2 separate regions of the Homo sapiens genome follow, and region 1 is linked to region 2. Evidence: promoter capture Hi-C in human tissues and cell types (Jung and others, 2019). All regions are on one chromosome and are shown on one strand. Each heading gives the region's core, a stretch centred on a gene start or on the middle of the fragment in contact. The rest is flanking DNA. Distances are from core to core; before and after follow the strand shown. Region 1 overlaps NABP1 (nucleic acid binding protein 1). Region 2 holds the start of TMEFF2 (transmembrane protein with EGF like and two follistatin like domains 2).

Region 1 (6,305 bases), core at 3,102-5,601, 510 kb after region 2:
TATTTAACATGGTAGTTTCAAAAAATAAATATTCAAGGCCCCAGTTTTAAATTTTCCTCCAATGTAATCCACAAAGTTGATAATACATGTTAGGAGCACTACTCTAAAATAAATGTAGCTTTCTTTTAAAATTACTTGTTGCAATAGAGATCACATTCTATTCCAAATTCTGATAAGGAATCTGTTTTTTTGGTAATACAACAAAAATTTGGGATGAGTCAGTCCTTGGAAAATCTTAATAGTAGTCACTGAACGAAGTCAATCATTCCGAGAGCCACAAACACTCAAAAATTACTGCTAGCATTGACAAGTTCTTGTGTTTTTTGATGGTTATTGCTTTAGTTGGCAATATCTGAATACAAGACAAAAGAACATCTCCCATTAAGCCTTATGTTAAATATTACAAAACTTATACAGAAGATAGACTCATAGAGGCTATAAAGCTGATGTCTTAAGTAACTCACCCATGAAATGGGTGCAGGTTTTTTAAAGGCTATCCAATAATCTTTTTACTCTAAAAATAAATGCCCCTACTTTTCAGTGTTCCCATTCTTCAACAGGAGACTCGAGCAGCTTAACAGTTTTGCTATAAAAACAAACCATTCTTCTTAACAAACCAAGAATATAAAAGGAAACCCAATAAAGGACGTACTTTTCACAGTTAACAATAAATAAAAGTGCAATAAGTGTTCAAGTAGGGCATGTAGTATAAAAACTACACATGAGTATTTAGCATAGGTCATCTTTTAAAGGCTCTCCGAGGGTCCCTGCCATTACTTATTGTGGTCATCACTGTTTGATTACTAGCTGTTCCTTGTAGTTGTGGATTTATAAGTCCCCGGCCATTGCTTCTGCCAGCATGTGAAAACTGGTGTTCCCTTGATTCAGGGCCAGTGTGAACACCATTTCCTAAAAAAGAATACAAAAATTCATCACTATTTTCAGAGGTAGTCTATAGAAGTAGAACTATCTTAAGTGCCAACATGTTATTAATGCTTAAAAATATTAAAGCACACACTTTTATTTTTATACAGAAAAAAAAAACAATGTGGGCTCTAAGTTTTTCCAAATGTATTGCTATAAATATGCTAACTTGATGCTGTATTAATAGAGAGAAAAAAGCCAACTTGGGCATCAAAATTAGAAATTAATAGAGTAAAAAAATGCATTGCCTACACTATAAAAGAAAAAGAAAGGGCAAAATAGTGAATATTGGAATTTGGCTCAAATATGATTAATATCTCAAAACAGACAATGTTATTCTAACTTTTTAAAGGCAAAGGCAGCGTTTCCCACAATGTGATCAGCAATGCCAAGACATGTAGCCTTCGAGTCAAATAAAACATGAGCTGGCCAGGTTCAGTGGCTCACGCCTGTATGTAATCCCAGCACTTTAGGACGCCGAGGCAGGTGGATCATTTGAGGTCAGGAGTTCGAGACTAGCCTGGCCCATATGGTGAAATCCCATCTCTATTAAAAATATAAAAATTAGCTGGGTGGTAGTGGTGCACATCTGTAATCCCAGCTACTTGGGAGGCTGAGGCAGGAGAATCACTTGAGCCTGCGAGGTGGAGGTTGCGATGAGCCAAGATCACGCCACTGCACTCCAGTCTGGGCAACAGCGTAAGACCCTGTCTCAAAAACAAAACAAAACCAAAACATGAGCCATCCTAATGAACTCTAATCACAAAAGACTGACTTTTCCTCATATATTTAAGAAAAAAGACTTCAGAAGACCTTTAACAGAGCTACAAGGATCATGAACATGATGTCTGGGGGTCATGTTAAATGACATCTGAGGGTCACTAGCCTTTAAACGGCTCAGCTCATCTTTTAAAGCAGCAGCTACTTGTATGTGAAAAATTAAGGTGAACTATGACTCTAAAGATAAAACGCTTTCAGTGCACCAAAATAACCAGTAATTCTGCATCTACTATAAGTAATCACTAGATTATAGAAATTTTATAGGAATCAATAAAAAAAAAATAGCATGGTATCTCTTCACGGACATCACAAAAACTTAGAATTCTCAATAAACTGGCTTAAGTTTATCAACTTTCTAGAAAATCAGCCCTTTGGGGATTCCCTGTTTACTGGTAGTTCACCTTTATCACTAATTTATGCCTAAAGACGTTGCTTTTCACGTGAATCTTTACAGCTCTCTTCATTCTTATACCTGATCACAAATGAAACACACAAACAAAATCTTACCCACTGGTCCAAATGTACCTGTACCCATATTACTATTCATGGAATTATTCTTCTGTTCACTCTGTGCCTAAAAAAAAGTTTTTAATTTAACCAAACGAGAATAAAAACACAATTATATTATTACAACATTATTATATCCTTTCTTTTTTAAAGTTTTGGGTTTGGCTTTTTTTTTTTTTTTAATTAACAAATTTTTTAAAGATTTTTCCTAGGTCATTAAAGGTTATAATGTTAAGAAACGTTTCCCAAACCTTTCAGAGCTCTGTTACATCCTATTTCCTGATAATTACTCAGCACACCACAAAGTGCAAAATGGCACATATATCTAGTAGATGACACCTCAGATACATATCCTCACAAAACATACAATAAAAATTAAGTATCCTTTTAAAAATTATCTTCTTTATACTAAGTATCAACAGGGCTAGCCTAATCATAGAATTATAACACAGTCAAAATTAGCCTAATCATAAAAGTATACTACACAATTACCCCTTTGTTCTGCTGTCCTCGATAATCTGGGTTGGGTTCACTGAAATTTGGCACTTCTGAATAAACCATACAAAATCTGAAAGAAAATAAAGAAAAAATTAAATGACTTCTGAAATAAAGTCCTCAACCCTTCTTTATGTAACATCTCTAACTTTTAGGAATGAACTTATGTGTCAAACAAATTAATAGCAACAAACTAACTCTTCATTTACAACAAAAACTTCCCAAATGATTATGTCCCATAAAACATCAAATATTTGACTGTCTACAAGATATATAACATTCTATTTTGTATTTAAATTCTTCTTTAGTGCTGAAAAAAAAATCACATCAAAAATCAAGGACACAAAAACATCTCTGTCCTGTTTTTCCACAAAAGCTGATCAAAGGAAAAATAACATGAGAGTGAACCATGTTTAGGGTTCCAGGGTGGTTTCTCCAGCAGTGGTAATGGATTTGCACCGATCCATTCACCCACTCCCATTCAGTCCCTCTTTTGATCGATCACTGTGGATCTGCAAAGATAATCATTTAGGGTTAAGAGTGGTTTCTAGGCAATAAATAATAACAACAGGCTACATAGCCACCAGTTTATCCAAGTGCTTCCTGTAAGTTGACCATATAATGTGTACTAACATTACAAAGAAGCATTTTATTACTCCTCACCATACTGAAGACAAATCAGAACCAGTTTTGGTAAATCCTCGACTGACCCTGACAAAGAGCAGTCATTAAGAAATGAGTGACCTCTAACGGTTTTTCACGTAACTGACCTCCATTATTATCAACACCTCTGTATGAATACATGAAGGTCAGGACAGAATCCTGAACCTTTCAGTAACAGACACTAAGACCTTTCATAACACATAACTCTATTAATGCTACTCTAAGTGAATCCTAACTTCCCTTCTAACAAAGGCAAAGCGTTAAGTGTTTCTGATCTTTAAAAGCTAGCATGATCATTTCTTTTCCTTCATTATTAACCACAGGTTCTCCAAATAAGCATCTTATTCCCTCAGTGGCAAACAGTTTTCCTTTTTTATCTGGTGCCATTTGTGGCTTCTCTTTTTAAATATCTTCCAATTTGACAGGCATTAAGTAGATGGCAGAGCATTAACCAAACAGAATGGACTGATGATTTGGCTCATTGCCTGTACCATACTTTATGAATACAACCCAATGTCTAGGCTAACATGGAGGCTGAATTACCTTACACCCCTAGAGAGGATGGCTCCTCCAGGTCAGGGTGGAGATCATTACCAGGGTAGTAGTGTATGGAATCTCGCATTGCGGCTGCCTGCACCGCACCTAGACTGTGGATAAATAGAGGACTTCAGTTTTCGTTGCTGCAAGTCCTTTTTAACATGAGTACATATTCACCCATAACCATAGAAAAAGAAAATTTAAACTTATGGCCTGAAACTTGGTGAATCACTAGCTTCGTATATGGTGAATCACTACAAAAGAGAATCTACTTCAAATGGCTCTTGTGACACCTAAAAAATGCACATTTCTAAAACCTACAGAAATGCTTCCACTAGGGCTGGTCTCAACTGCAGCTTCTTCTACTGCTCTTTGCCAGGAAAAATTGACACTTTTAACCACAGAAAACAGTACTGACAAGTGTTAAATTTGTATACACGAAGTTATTTTTTCAATTAAGCTACCAAAGACATTCAGTTTACTAGTCAAAAAAGCCAAAGAGGTTTACAATTCATACCTACCAATCATTCCGTAGATATTATTTATAATATATGCAATTATACAAAATGCATTTTAATACTTACTCCCCAATTTTTTGAAGTTCACCACCCCTTCCAGTATAAAGTGTCAGACATCCTTTCCACATGGATGCATACCTAGAGAGAAAAGAAACATTAATTCTTTAGAAATATATTTATTTTCTTCTATTTAAATCAAGTAAATCTTCACACTATATATTTTTTGTATTAAGGTAGAAGTGAGGATCAAGCCCTCTCTATCCACCATAGTAAATCAAATACAATAAATCTAACTTTGATAACTTGCTATTTACAAAAGAATACAAAAATTCTGTCGAATTTTGACATAATTATCTAAATCATAACAAATTCTGGAAAATAAGTCTTTTCGCAAAGCCAGTATTATTATACCCAATGATCACATCTTTAGTCAATTAACAAAACAAAAGCTTTTAATTGCAGAAATTTAAACAGAAACTATTTTTCAGCCACAAGATATGTAAAATCATCCTAATGTTTCATTTACAGTCTAGTCAAATAATGATATAACAGTTTTCCTTCTGCCTCCATAAAAGACACAGGATTCCTAAGCTACCGAAGATCTGGTAGAATTTCAAAGTGCTAAAAAAAACACTAAGGTCACAAAGCTTCACCTATCTGCCTTTCCAAACATGTGATTTTTAATACCATGCTGGGTTTGTAGTAAACAAACTGGCAAATGTTTACTCCGAACAATTTTGAAAGCAGACAGCATCACTACATAAAATAATCCTAGATATCTAAGAAAAAGGTAAATTAATATTATAAAATCAATCCAAGGTTTGGTTCTCAATGGTTCTCTGTACAACTACTATGGTAACTTCATGACTTTAACTTACTATACAGTTCTCTTTACTTTAATTAAAGGGTTATTTATTAAAGACACCATTCACCACTCTTAAGTTATACAAAGAGTGGCTTAGGATACAGTGCATTAACATTTCACCTTACTAAAATAAAAATTAACCCATATTTTGAGAAAAAATTTGGTTACAATTAAAATATTTAACATTCACTTTAAGAAATGAGAACACTGAGGTAAGTTTTCAGGGTATTCTGATAAACATGTTGATATTTGAACCATTATTTAGATGTTAGGTATGTTTTTCTTCAAAAGCTACTTTTCTTAGATTCAACCAGAATTTAAGGGCCTTAGAATGAGCCAGACTCCAAGCTGAGTGTGTTGTTTTGGTAAATAAGGTATAATTATTCCCATTTCACAGAAGAGGAAGCTGAAGTATGAGGTGTAGTAACTTCTCAAGGTCATACTGAAGTAGTAAATAGAGTTTCTATAGTTTTTAATTTTCGTTTAAATTGTACTCCCAGGTAATTGTTCCCCTTAAAATTCTATAGTACCTAACTAATAAGTTTAATTTTCCAATAATTTTTTTGATGGAAACACCTATGACTGTCACTACAGAACATGAAATACTTGAAATAAGATGCCGTTTTTAGCGTAAAAAATACTTTCAATCATTGGGTGAAAAATATTTGGGGAGCCAAAAACTCCAATTATACTAATCAATCCTCACCATACTTCCCTAAGAAGGAATTCTCTTTTGTTTTTTAAAGATGTGGAAGTTTAAATTACTGTCATGAGTCAGTGTATGAGAAGAAAATGTCTAAGTCCTGACTCTCACTTCCTGCTTTGATGACACTTTACCTCACTTCCTGAAGATGTTGTAAGCCTGCAAGGTAACACCAAGGAGCTCTAAGCTCCTACTCTCAGTGCTTTCCAATACTTCTAAGATTCTACTTATTAGGCCAACATCAATCTCCACCACTTTCCCTGCAGTTAATGATAAATTATTACAATTTTATTGATCTCAAAAGCTTCCAAAT
Region 2 (6,417 bases), core at 1,716-4,215:
TGTATATGCCACAAATAAAGTGTTCTAGCTCAAGAAGATTGAAAGTAAATATGGTATAGTATTTTAAAATAAGAATTTTGCAAATACATGGTATGATTGTGTCATATTACTAGCAATCATATGATACGCAATGCAAAGTACAGTTCATAGACTTAAATTTAATTCTAATAAGTAAACTGATTTTGCCTTGCTGGGGAAAAGTTAAAGCACTAATCCAATTGCTAATGCAGTCTTGTCTACTTCTTTGGTACCTAGTGACAAGTCTAAATAATGTATATATTTTTATTTACATATTCAGTAATACAATTCTCTGCTCAATGAGTGATGTTCTTCTGCCACTTGGTGGTGCTTGCCAGTTTCAGAATTTGTTTCTTGGTGGCACTATAACACTAAGTACAGAGTAAGTGCAACAAAATTGCAGCATTCCCATTGAAAAGGCTTTGCTTCAAACTGTTTAATAATTTAAAGGACCTCTGTGGAAGCAACCGCATTTGTTAACCAGTTACAACCAGTAATTAACTCCTTTGGAGTTTTAACTTACTTTTGGCAAAACGTCTTAGGAAGAGCATATATTATTAGAAAGTATGCCAAAAATTTACTTAGCAGAAAATTCAAAAACAGTTTTCCTCTGCTAAGAGGTTCTCTAAAATTCTACTTACATAGCCAAACTCTGAAATCCTAGCAGGTCCTGTTTCATTATCATAATTACTGCATAAACACTTTTAAGGACTTTGCCTTTAGTTTCAAGCATGACTTATTTTCATAAGCCTGATTAGTTACCACACCAGCCTTGCTATGGAAAATGACATGTTCTCATTCTCTGCTGTAGAGTTGTTAAATCTTGATCTATATTTATGTTGCCTTCTCTGCTGAAAGCCTGTAGCGAAAGAAATTTCTAATTCCTTGTTTTGCAATATTAGTTGGCAGCTCTATCTAATGGGTATTCTGTTTCCTTAAAGAATTTAGCTGCTCTGTCTAGAAGCCGATTTTCTGATGCCTCCAACGTCTGGTCTAATTGATCTGTTTTAATGGAGTCTTCGTCGGTGAGGAGCGAGATGCCACCGACTAGAATGCTGGGATCTGCTGCTTAATTGCCAGGAGTGAGAGACACTGAGATTCAGAAATCTTTGGAGGTGGGAGGGGAGAGGGACAGTCTCGGACGGAGGCGGAGATGTAAGATAAAGGGATGGATTTCACACAGGAAAAAAAAAAAGATTTCGTTGAGGCACTGAGGTGCTGCACGATCACATCTCTCAAAGGAGAAGTTAAAAAGCAAGGAAGTGGGAGGAGGTTGGAGGTTAAAGTACTTAAAAGGATTACTCGGGTACAATTTGTTTTTCTGCTGGTGTCTGCAAAGGATAGATAGTCCCGTTTTCAAAGTATATGAATGCCTCTTTTAAGTGATTGGGAATGGACACTAATTGCCTGTTAAATGTTATCAAATGCTCTCCTAAATTCAGGGGACACAGAAAGAGGGGCACAAAAGGAGAATTTAAATAGAAAAAGGGAGGATCCGGAGGCTTTTGAAAGCGGGGGGAGAAGAAGGAGGAGGGATAACAGAGAGGAATAGAGAAGGAGAGCGGAGAGAAGATAAACAAAAACAAAAACAGGAATCACTGAATAATCACACACCAAAAAGAAAGCTCTTCCCTATGGGGCATCCAAAACACTGAGACTGCAATAGTGACCCCGGTCATGGAAGAAAGATGTTCCTCTCCACCCTTGTCCCCGAAAGCTCTTGGTCCCGTTACTGGCGACTAAAATTCCATTAGGCTAAAGAGTGTGTCTAACTGCCTGAAGAATGCAGCAGACGGAAGGCGGGTCCCGCTATGCCGTTTGCCCTTCCCGCTGGAGAGAATGAAAGAAACGCGCAGAGCCAGAGACTCCTGCCGAGTTAGACCTTCTCTCGTCGCCCCAGGTCACCGGCCATCCGGCAAAGACCCGAGTAAGGAACGCAGGGTCACTGCCTGGGCCAACAAATGGAGCCCGCTCTCCCCTTCCCGGACGCCGCTGCCCGGCCGATGCTCCCGGCAACCCACCCGCGGCGTATGCAGAGGAGCCTTTCTCTTTCTCTCAGACCACTTGTCCCGACCAATCTGACCTTCCAAACACATCTGACCGCACCTCCCAGGTGGACACACTAATAGGCTACGGGCTGGAGAGGAGCGGGTGATGAGGAGAGGGATTCAAACCTGCGAACGCTTGGGCTGGGTCGGAGCTGCGGGGGGCCTGGGAGGAGAGAGGGGAGAAGAGAGAAGGAAGGAGAGCGCCTGCCGGGATGGCTGAGCTGCCTCGGCGAGCAGCCTTGGGGTTGCACGCTCTTGTGGGAGATGCTGCTGTTGCTTCCAGGTCGGCAAGAGCGGTTCTAACACCATCGCCTCTCACCCTCTTTCCTGTAAATCCCTAGAGAAACGTCCCTGGCCTCTCCGCCGCGACATTCCCAGCCTGCATCCCCCTACAGCCTAGGCGGCGCGCTCCCGCACGCTGGAGCGCCGGTCGCCAGCAGGACGCCCTCTCCCGCGCCGACTCGCCCCTCTCTGCCCTGCTGCTGCTGCTCCTCTGACACCTCCGCCCCCACCATCTCCAGCTCGGAGAGACGCCACCCAGCCGCGGCCCGCACTCGCGGCCCGGGGTCACGCGCGGAAGAGGGGCGCTAGTCCGGACCCCGCCTTCGGTAGGGGGCGTCCTGGAGCGGAGAGTGAGGCGAATGGTATATGAGTGTGCGGGTAGCCCACCCTGAAGCCCGAGCTTCTCATTTGAGCCATCCCCGCCTAGCCCCACTCGGGCCAGCGCCTGGCGAGCGAGCCCATCTGTGGCTTCCGCGGCCGCCTCCTCCTTGCATCCTTGCACCTCCTCGTCGACCCCTCCCTCCCGGGACCTGCATCCTGCTCCACCAATCAGAGCCCGACTGCCTCTTCCCACGTGACCCCGGGCGGGCTGAGGACCTGCTGCTTCCCAAACGCCAGAGGGATGCGGGCGGCAGAGCTCGAGAGGCGGCTGCCGGGCTGCGGGGCGCCTTGACTCTCCCTCCACCCTGCCTCCTCGGGCTCCACTCGTCTGCCCCTGGACTCCCGTCTCCTCCTGTCCTCCGGCTTCCCAGAGCTCCCTCCTTATGGCAGCAGCTTCCCGCGTCTCCGGCGCAGCTTCTCAGCGGACGACCCTCTCGCTCCGGGGCTGAGCCCAGTCCCTGGATGTTGCTGAAACTCTCGAGATCATGCGCGGGTTTGGCTGCTGCTTCCCCGCCGGGTGCCACTGCCACCGCCGCCGCCTCTGCTGCCGCCGTCCGCGGGATGCTCAGTAGCCCGCTGCCCGGCCCCCGCGATCCTGTGTTCCTCGGAAGCCGTTTGCTGCTGCAGAGTTGCACGAACTAGTCATGGTGCTGTGGGAGTCCCCGCGGCAGTGCAGCAGCTGGACACTTTGCGAGGGCTTTTGCTGGCTGCTGCTGCTGCCCGTCATGCTACTCATCGTAGCCCGCCCGGTGAAGCTCGCTGCTTTCCCTACCTCCTTAAGTGACTGCCAAACGCCCACCGGCTGGAATTGCTCTGGTAAGTCCAGAACCCCCGTCCCCGACCCTTTAACTCCGCAGAAGAACACGCGTATCCAGCACAGACCAGCCTACCCTAGCGCGCCTCCTCAGCCCCTCACCTCCTACTGCCCTAGACCCCTAATACCACCCACCTCTATCCAGAGAAACAAGGGGAACTGTTGCAGGCCCGGGGGTGAGGGGTGGTTCTGGGATGGGCAGAAAGTGCAGGTGTAGCAGGAAACCTTTGCATGCTTGCGCTTACATTGGAGCTGCGAGGATTTTGAGAAATATTAAACGGGATGGTTTTCTGGGTTCACTGTTTTGAAAGAGCACCAATCCTAGGGGAAACACTGAAACAGAAGCTTTGTCATCATTAAAGAAAAAAGTCTTACTAGGATGAGGAAGAAATAACTTTATGAGAAAGAATGAGCGAGAAAGCAATAAATCAAATGGTGACTGCAGGGGAATCGCTGATTCCTGGCAAAGGTGCCATGAGGTCGCACTGGTCTCCCGTTGAAGACCAGGTCACACAGATTCTAGAGGAGCTGGGTTTCAATAGAATTTCTCTCTCTCTCTCTCTCTCTCTCTCTCTCTCTCTCTCTCTCTCTCTATCTATCTATCTCTCTCTCTCTCTCATTCCCTTCTCTCCTAGGCGGCAAAAGACATTGGTTTTGCAGTCCAGATATGCCCCTCTCTTTGCTTCCCTAAGCTTCAAGGTAGTACAGGGGAGTTGAGAAAAAGAACACTTTGCGGGTCTCCCAGGCCGGAGTGGGCATGACTGAGGCTGGTCAGGCTCCATGTAGGCGAGCCGAGGGCGGAACCGACTTCAGTGGGCGCTGACTCCTCCATTTCTGGACAGGCTTCTGTGGAGTGGGTCAGGCACTCTTCTTGCTCGCTCGGGTTCCTTCAGATTCTGACGGCGAACGCTTGGCAGGCTTCGCTCTGCTGAAGCTTCCTAATTAAATAGGGCCAGAGGATGGGAGTTGCTGCACTCCTAGCTGGCATAGCATTTCGGTTTGACAGCCTGTAGTATACTGGGCAGAATTGTGGTGTAATTTCCTTGGCATTTTAAACTCCGTTAACATGCCTGGGTATTGTCCCCTAGGTGTGGTCTGTTCTAGTTTTAGCAAGTGTGTATGTAATTTTTCATCTTCTGTGAATATAATTTTGCTGTAGTTAAATCTGGCTCTGAATAAAGTGTCTTTCAAAGATGTATATAAGCTGAAGTGTATGTAACTTTAGAGAGGAGGGAATGACCAACTGTAACTCAGGGTGAAAGCCTGTATAGTTCCTAGTTATTACTGATGTAAATGCCAAAAGGAAAATTATTATGCATCATTCTAATTTATCCTTTACAAAGACAAGTTGAGATATGCAACCCTATTAGATTTGGGTCAATAGATTGTTCTCTTTTTTGGCAGTTTCTAAATTTGGCATTTTAATAAAACTCAACATGTTTCTATAACTTCTTGATTCATGCGTACATGTGTGTTGTTTTTGAAAGAATAAGTTTCACTTTGCTATTGCCTAATCACTTTTTAGATGCTTTATTATGGTAATAATTATGAGCCTGCAAAAACAATTTTTGGAAATGTTGATGGCTTTGTAGTCCAACACAGACTGGTTTGCTTCATTCCTAGCCCTTGCATTGTTTTAGGAAATAACTAACTTAAATGTGAAGTTGACATTTGCAATCAAGAAATTACATATTTACCAGATATTTTAAAGGGGACTGCATAAACTAAAGAGAATAAACTGGTTTTGCAGATAGGTTGTCAAGAACTTGGCACCCCGCTTCCACCCCTGTTAACTTAGAGGTGATCAATCTTCATTTGAGCCAAACAGACCATCACAGAAAACACTGTGCCTGTTTATCTTTATTATTGAGGCTTTGTTTCCTCTTTGTCTGGATACATTTCAAATAAGGGGTTGTTTCAGTCGTTGAAGCAAAAGAACAATTAAAGATGGGGAAATGGTAAAAGGGTATTCAGAGATCATCACTAGCTCTTTTCCAAAATGTGGAGTTTTGTGGTCATAAATATTGTCCACCTAATGAGCAAAAAATAAAAATAAAAAAAAAACAGGAAGCAAATGTTAAGCTTTCATTCACCACTGTCAGTATTAACGCAAGCTTTAAAAAATAGCACTATCAGAAAAGGATACTAAAGGAGAATTGACTAGAAAAGAATTGTGGAAAATGGAAACGAATATTGATCACTTAACTAGATTTTGAGGTTATCAGTAGACAGTGACCTTGCAGTACAGCTATAGTTGTTGGATTTAAAATTTAGGACAAGTATTTTAAAGCTTCAAAGTAGTGCTTTTTTTTGTTAAAAATCTGTAAGATGTTTTAATGACTGGAGTGTTCTCTTTGAATTTGAGGTTATGATGACAGAGAAAATGATCTCTTCCTCTGTGACACCAACACCTGTAAATTTGATGGGGAATGTTTAAGAATTGGAGACACTGTGACTTGCGTCTGTCAGTTCAAGGTAAGAAGTCTTATATTTGCATCTTCTAATTCATTAATGAGACTGCAAAGCAGGAATCTTCCTTTACAGCCTATCACTTGGAAATTTATAGCTATGCAAGCTAAGAGGGAAGCTGGCACCAAGCAAAAGTACTAGCAAGAGAGCCAACTGATGTCAAGAAGACATACGCTTTTTGGAGAAATGTATATGCCAAAGTTATAAATGCTGCTGGAGGTAGAAAGCTTCAGGTTGTGCTTTTGGGATGTCAAAGGAAAATTATGTTTCTCTGACCCTTCTAGCATCACTTTAAAAGTGAATTGACTGGGGATAATAGTCAAAATAGGGGGTAAGAAGTGTGGACTTATTCTTTTGTTCTTTTTGATTGGGGCTATCATCTTTTTATCTTATTGCTATCTGTTT

Evidence for each region. Contacts are between HindIII fragments. The study calls those that stand out against the background at their distance.
Region 1: a contact is called between a fragment that was not itself captured here and the fragment with the promoter of TMEFF2 in region 2, in 1 of the 25 tissues and cell types used here (hippocampus).

What each region holds. Positions count from the first base shown.
Region 1 is chr2:191,680,203-191,686,507 of GRCh38, reverse strand. NABP1 (nucleic acid binding protein 1) reads right to left here. Exons shown (of 6, transcript NM_001031716.5): 3 at 4,491-4,562; 4 at 2,704-2,779; 5 at 2,212-2,278; 6 at 1-909. The coding sequence ends at 740. Among named protein-coding and RNA genes, the nearest start is that of NABP1, 5.2 kb to the right of the region's middle. RefSeq lists an enhancer at 6,002-6,305. The HindIII fragment of the contact is 5,545 bases long and covers 1,579-6,305 here.
Region 2 is chr2:192,191,481-192,197,897 of GRCh38, reverse strand. TMEFF2 (transmembrane protein with EGF like and two follistatin like domains 2) reads left to right here and starts at 2,965. Exons shown (of 10, transcript NM_016192.4): 1 at 2,965-3,545; 2 at 5,909-6,018. The coding sequence starts at 3,374. RefSeq lists an enhancer at 2,444-3,019. The HindIII fragment of the contact is 5,375 bases long and covers 1-4,062 here.